2 separate regions of the Homo sapiens genome follow, and region 1 is linked to region 2. The links are contacts of gene promoters, found by promoter capture Hi-C in human tissues and cell types (Jung and others, 2019). All regions are on one chromosome and are shown on one strand. Each heading gives the region's core, a stretch centred on a gene start or on the middle of the fragment in contact. The rest is flanking DNA. Distances are from core to core; before and after follow the strand shown.

What was found. Contacts are between HindIII fragments. The study calls those that stand out against the background at their distance.
Region 1: a fragment that was not itself captured here is called in contact with the fragment with the promoter of C10orf67 in region 2 in 1 of the 25 tissues and cell types used here (hippocampus).

Annotation. Positions count from the first base shown.
Region 1 is chr10:23,301,508-23,305,044 of GRCh38, forward strand. C10orf67 (chromosome 10 open reading frame 67) reads right to left here. Exons shown (of 16, transcript NM_001371909.1): 5 at 1,797-1,952. Among named protein-coding and RNA genes, the nearest start is that of C10orf67-AS1, 41 kb to the right of the region's middle. The HindIII fragment of the contact is 4,926 bases long and covers 1-3,537 here.
Region 2 is chr10:23,343,406-23,346,910 of GRCh38, forward strand. C10orf67 (chromosome 10 open reading frame 67) reads right to left here and starts at 1,392. Exons shown (of 16, transcript NM_001371909.1): 1 at 1,164-1,392. The coding sequence starts at 1,369. C10orf67-AS1 (C10orf67 antisense RNA 1) reads left to right here and starts at 552. Exons shown (of 2, transcript NR_155752.1): 1 at 552-685; 2 at 1,019-1,756. RefSeq lists a silencer at 2,515-2,809. The HindIII fragment of the contact is 15,239 bases long and covers 1-3,505 here.

The DNA of each region.
Region 1 (3,537 bases), core at 542-3,041, 41 kb before region 2:
CCCATGTGGGTCACCAAAATGTTACTGGGGGGTCCTTGCACCCAGAGCTCCCAAGATGGTGGTGGGCCACTTCCAAAATGGCAGCAGGCCACTTCCAAGATGGTGGCAAGCCTCGTGTTCTCTGATCTGGGGTTCTTGGCCTCACAGATTCCAAGGAATGGAATCTTGGGCCATGCGGTGGTGGTGGGCCTCTTCCAAGATGGTGACAATCCTCGTGTTCTCTGACCTGGGGTTCTTGGCCTCATGGATTCCAAGGAATGGAATCTTGGGCCATGCAGTGAGTGTTATAGCTCTATTAGAAGCCATGGGCCATGGAAGAGAACCGTGGAACCCAGTAACTAGCGTTCAGCTCGATTATGATCAACCCGGGCACTTAGCCATGCAGGAACAATGGCAAGCCTTTAGCCTGATCGGGAGCGGCAATGGGCGCCCCGCTGGATCAGGAGCACAGCAGACATCCTGCTGGATCCAGAGGGATGGAAGTCAGCGGTGGGTCTGCGATGGCGGCAAACAGCAGAGGTGGACGGTGAGCGAAAGCTCAGCTCAAGCCGTAACAAACACGGACCAGAAGAGTGCAGTTACAAGATTTAATAGAGTGAAATAGAGTGGAAACAGAGCTCCCATACAAAGGGAGAGGACCCAAAGAGGGTAGCCCTCTATGTGTATTAATCTATTAATAATTATTAATGTATTATAATATATCATATTATAATATATTATGATAACATAATCTATACATTATAATCTGTACATTTTCTATATGCATATGTATATTATATATTCACTACAACCTTTAATTCTTACTGTAGAGGATAAAGCTCCCCCTCTGTAAGTGGACTTTAGATTCAGGTGAACCTTGGTTCATGTACCATCTTTACCATCTACTACGTTTGCCCATGAGGAAGTTACTTAACCACCCTGTCTCTGCCTCTTCATCTGCAAACTGAACTGTGAGAATGAGAAGAGATGCCATCGATGAAGTATCTGATACCTGCTATTGCTATTCAATAGACTTTTATTCCTCCTGGGTCCCAGCATCTGTTAGCCTTTCCAAATCAAACAATCAGCTTCTTGTTCTTAGAACTTAAGAATAAAATCCTCTCCAGCTCTGGACCATGGTTGGGCCTGGGACATCCGGTGGCTCAGAGCAGACATGAGATGACAATGAATTCGTTCTCAGGATCCACATTTTCCAAAGCCCTTAAACTTCCTCCTTGACAGGAGTTTAGGTTCTTCTTTCTGCCTTCTCAGTCATTCCATTTTTGCTCCCATCAGTAGTTTGTCTAACCAGTAAAGCAGCTCCTGGCTCCCACTGCAACAGGAAAAACTGAGGGGAAAATCCTCTGGGATTTTTCTTCTTGATATTTTTATTTAAATGTCATTCTGTTCCAAGTTGGCTTCTTGGAAGCTCTGGCTTGGAAAGATTAGCTTTGTGTCTTTCAAACTACTTTGACTGCAAAAAAAGGTGGGAGTCTTCGGTTACAACAAAAATCCACTCCCACACTCTTCTAGAGTAGGACATTTTTTGCAGTGGGAGGTAAGTTATTTTATTTCCATTTAAACAAAAATTGTATTTTTAATTTTATTGCTCCTATTCATTATATTGCTCCTATTCATATTGTTATGGGTTTTCTAGAATAGGCCATTGAGCAGAAAAGAGTTAGACTGGCTTATATTATGGGGAGATGCCCAAAATGCAGCAATTGGATTTTAATTTATCATTAACTCAAGCTTTTAACTATTTATGACTTTATTTATGTATATTAAAATTAATTATTCCTTGCCTTGAAACTTACCATTTTGTGAAATCCAAAATCTTTATATTGGTCTAGTTCTTCTTTTAATTCTTTAATAACTTCTTCTTTCTCTTTCAGTTTTCTTAACAAAATATTTGTTTTGACAGTACTCGCATCTTGCAAAGAAACATTCTCTTCTTCTACCTCAAAGAATTGCTAGGGACAAAAAAAAGCAGCATTAAAAATTAGACACTAAGCATTAAAAATTAGGCACTTACACTAAATTAGACACTCAGCATTAAAAATTAGACACCACCAGAAAACATTTCATCTTTTAAGCTACTGTTTTGTGAAGGTTATTTTTGTAACCTGCATACAATTTTAGTAAGCAACTTTATTTATATTGAAATATATGCTTAAAAAGTATTACGCACTATGTAGCACAGTGTTATCCTATAAAACACAAAGCATGGTCAGTTACTCTTACTGTATCAGCCATGTAAACTACAATAGTAAAGAGCGAGATGGAAGATTAGGAGAACGTCTACTCAACAAGAATTTGGCAGCCATCCGTGGACAAAAGTTCCCTTGAGGGAGATTTGGGACCTGGATAGAAGACTGCAAAACTCTAGTGGAGCCCAAGACTGAGGAGGGCTGTTTTGACTGGCAGGCTGCACCTAGGTGGCAGGCTCACTGACCATGGTCCCAGCTACAAACCCAGAAATTGCTTCATTGCCCTGTGGACTTGGTCCTGCCTCTAGAACCATCTGCCAAGAAATCCAGGAGGAATCACATTCACCTGTACCTCTGGTGACAAGCCCACAGGCCTCAGTCTCAGCTGTGGATCCTGAATCAGCTCTGTAACTCAACCAAACCCACTTTCAGCTGCAGTTTGAGACCAGTCCTGCCTGCCCAGGCACCTGCTGGGAGTCATGCCTATTTGTGCCTTCAGAAGCAGGTTGGCTGACCTCAGTCTCACAGCAGATCTTGAAACAGCCCTTTAACTTGGTCCCAGCCCTCTCAGCTGCAGTCTGAGAGCAGTCTTGCCCACCCAGGGGCTTGCTGAAAGCTATGCCTTTCTGTGCCCCAAAGGCAGGCCCACTGATTTTGATTCCACTGCAGATCTTGGGGTGGGCCTGCAACCTAGTTCTGTCCCTTCCTAGCCTTCATCCAGAAGCAGTCCTGTCCACCCAGAGATCTGCCAGGAAACATGCCCATCAATGCCTCTGGAGGCAAGCTGCTGACCTCAGTCTGATGGAGAAGCCTGAAGTAGCCCCGTGACCCAGCTCGAGCCCACTCAGCCATGGTCCAGGAGCAGTCCTGCTTGCCCAGGAGCCTGGCAGGAGGCACACCTTTCTATGTCTCTGGAGGCATGTCTGCAGACCCCAGTCTCAGTGTAAGCCATGAAGCAGCCCTGTAATTCCCTTCAAGCTCCTGTCAGCCATGGTCCATGGCCACTTCTCCTTGCCCAGGTACCAACTCAGTAACCCAGCAGGAACACTACAAGGGACCTGAAGGAATACACACTCATCTGTGTGTCTGGTAACAGGCCCACCATCTGCAAACCCAACTGTGAAACCTGAAGAATCTTCTTTACCCAGCACCAACTCTACAGACTAAGGTCCTGGAAGCAGTTTATTCTTTCCAGGGGCCAGACAGGATCCAAGCCTGTTCAAGCCCCTAGTAATAGGCCCACTAACATGGTCCCCATTGCAGACCCAGCAGCAGCCACGTAACTCGGCTGCAACCCTACTCAACTGCAATCCTGGAGGCAATCTTATCAGCTTAGGGACCCAAAAGA
Region 2 (3,505 bases), core at 142-2,641:
ACCTGGAATCTGCCAGTGGGCTTCCCAGCCTCCAGAACTGGGAGAAACAAATTCCTGTTGCTTATAAGCCACCCAGCCTATGTTGTTTTGTTACAGCAGCCCGAGGGGACTAAGACGGGTACTGTGTCCTAGATTAGCTCATTTAATATTCACTATGATCTATGAAGCAGGCACTACTCTTCATCATTCATGAACGATTATTTCCCGCTGAGAAAACTGAGGCACAGAGCAGTCAGTCGCCTAACTCACGGCCCCTGTGAGAGGGTCGCCAAGATTCTGGAATCCGGGCAGTCTGGCTCCAGAGTCCGTGCTCTTAGTGTCCAGCTATACACTTGAAGAAGTGAAAACTGCAGCTCTTTTCGGACAGTGATCCCCTCGAAAAACAAACAAAAAACTGAAGCCCAGCGGCTGGAGCAAGGGGCCTGGAAAGGCGTTGAGCGAGGGCCGGGGCGCGAGGGCTCCGGGGCGGGCCGGCGGGGACTGCCTCTCCCGCTGGTCACCTGGGGTTGAACTGGAATTGTTCAATAGAGGCCTCGAGGCCCTCCATGATCTTCCGGCCCTCCTCTGTCTCAGGCGAGTCGCCCCAGTTCGCCATTGCAGCCCCGGACGTGCGCCTCCCGCGGAGCCGCTCGCTCTCCTGAGTCGGAGTCGGGAACCCGGCGTCCGTTGCCATGGCGACTCCCAGGTAACCGGCGAAGCGCGGGAATCCGTGGGCGGGGGCCGGGGAGGGCCGCGAGTGGAGGGGGGTGGGGAACGGGGTGGGGAGGGGAAGGGGGAAGGAGATGGGGAGGAGGGGGATAGGGAGAAGGTTGGGGATGGGGGGGAAGGGGAGAGGGAAAGGAAGTAGAGGAGGTGTGGAGGGAAGGAAGAGGGGGAAGGAGTGGGGGAAGGGGGAAGAGATGGAAAGGAGGATGGGGAGGGAGCACGCGCGGGAGGAGGGGAGTGGAGAGGGGGAGGAGGAGGCGGGGCGGGCTCCCAAGCCACCCCGCTGCGCTTTCACTGTCCCGCCTGCCTCAAGGCTTCCCCACAAGACTCCCACAGCCTGGAGGCTGCTGCGATACCCCAGAGGAAAGCTGCACCCCCGTAAATAACCCTTCAGCCTCCCGCCGTGCCCCTGGACCCTGCTCGCTTCCTCCTCTACCCAGGCGCGGAGCTCAGCCTACCTCGTGGACCCGCGCATTTGCGGGGGCTTGAATTCCCGAGCTTCTCGCTTCCTACGCGCGCAGCAGACCCGCAGCTCGGTGGCCTTGGCTTTCATGGCCTCCCAGCGTGTGCCAAAGGTCCCCCTCAAGGAGGAGGAAAAGCAGTGAACCCATCTAATAACTATGCTCATGACATAATGAGCCCTGCGATCCCGGACCAAGGCCATCATAAGAGGAGAGCAGGCTGCCTAATAAGCTGTCTCCACCTGCCACAAACGTAGGCGTTCCTGGACAAAATATTTCCTTGCAGAGATTAAACAGATTTCTATTTAATGAGGTCAGAATGTGAGGCGTTAAGTCTTAAACTATACCATCTAGTGTGGAATTCAATTTTACCAGGTTTCTACAATAATAAGAGTTAATAGTGAAACTGTTGTCATCCTTAGTTTTAAATTATGTATCACTCATTGTCAACTAATAGGAGACACCTATTCTAATATCAGTATGTCATTGTTTTTCTGTAAACGACTGGCTAAATTTATTTTTAAAATGTCATTGTCTGGTTTAGAACTGTCTATACTACATCTGCATTTCAATATATTATCTACAGAAAAATAAGTTTTTTCTCCTCTCTCTTATTATTATTATTATTATTTTTTGGAGCCGGAGTCTCGCTCTGTCGCCCAGGCTGGGGTGCAGTGGCGCGATCTGGGCTCACTGCAACCTCCGCCTCCCGGGTTCAAGCAATTCTCCTGCTTCAGCCTCCCGAGCAGCTGGGACTACAGGCACACAGCACCAAGCCAGGCTAATTTTTTGTATTTTTAGTAGAGACGGGGTTTCACCGCGTTGTGCAGGCTAGTCTAACTCCTGAGCTCAGGCAATCTGCCCCCCTCGGCCTCCCAAAGTGCTAGATAACAGGCGTGAGCCACAGAGCCCGGCCTCTTCTCTGTCTTGTAACAGTAAGTGAAAATAACTTAGCTGGATTTAGAAGCTCAAAACAGGAAAAGAAAAGCACTGTAGCATTATCACTACTATTATGTTTAAAGACAAAGATTAAAAGCCCCAAATGCCAATAAAACATCATAACCAATGCCAAAATCATCTTCTGTGAAGGCTTATTTTTTGGGGGGGAGATGAAGAGAGAAGAGAAAAAGAGTTACTTTTACTCTTTGGAGGTTTTTAATTACAAACTCTAACTTCAGACTTTATTTGGGGAATTTTTATTATATAATCAAAAGGTATTTTAAAAGAAAGAAATTTATATATCTACAATAACTTTTCTTTTTCCTAAGTGATATTTTACCACAATGTATATACATGTTTTAAAATAAAGATTAAAATTTTAAGTTAAAATTTCAAAACCTATCTGTTTAGAGCTGGGCCAAGACAGTGTAAAGAATGTGACAAGCTGTTGGCTATTTTCCTAGTGCAATTATAAATGAATCGTTTGAAACTGAGGAGAGAGATCGCACAGAAGATTTCATGAGTCATTGGTCAGCTCTGTACAGCATTTGTTGACTGATATAGTCTGCATAGTTACGCCATCCCACAAAAACATGCATTGAACAGAACATCTTTGTTTGAAACCTTGCTATAGCATATCAAGGAGTTTCAGATTTCAGTGTCTAAGAGACCACGCTATGATGATGATTGTTTTTGAAACCGTTAACTACATAATACTTCTCTTCTTGTCAGTTACCTGTATTTTATCTCACAGGTGTTCCGGCTTATAAAATTGTTTATTTCAGATCAGATTCTCACCTGTAGTAACTGGCGTTGATGTGGTCAAAACATTTGTCATATTAAATCCAGGCCTCTTTTATCACATGCTAAATTCATTGATGGCTTTAGTGGAAAGCTCATGAACTCTGCAGTAAATATTAAATATATACAGGCTTTGAAACTTACTCGATTTAGAATTTTGGGCAAGTAAGTTAACATTTCAGAGCCTCTATTTTCTCACAAGTAAAAACTGGATAATGAATGTTTCTCAAAGTTGGGGTAATCTATAAAGCAGAAAAACACGCAGCACATGCATGAGGCAACTGCAAGAGAAATACCAACTAGGCCTTTGAAGGACTCTATTCCTTCTTCCTAAACCACTACTAGGGAAAACATTGTTTAAAGATGTCAGTGTTTTGGCTGGATTCGGTGGCTCATGCCTGTAATCCCAACACTTTGGGAGGCGGAGGCAGGCAGATCACTTGAGGTCAGAAGTTTAAGACCAGCCTGGCTAACATGGTGAAACCCTGTCTCTACTAAAAATACAAAAATTACCTGTGCATGGTAATGCACGCCTGTAATCCCAGCTACTTGGGAGACTGAGGCATGAGAATCACCTGATCCCGGGAGGCAGAGGTTGC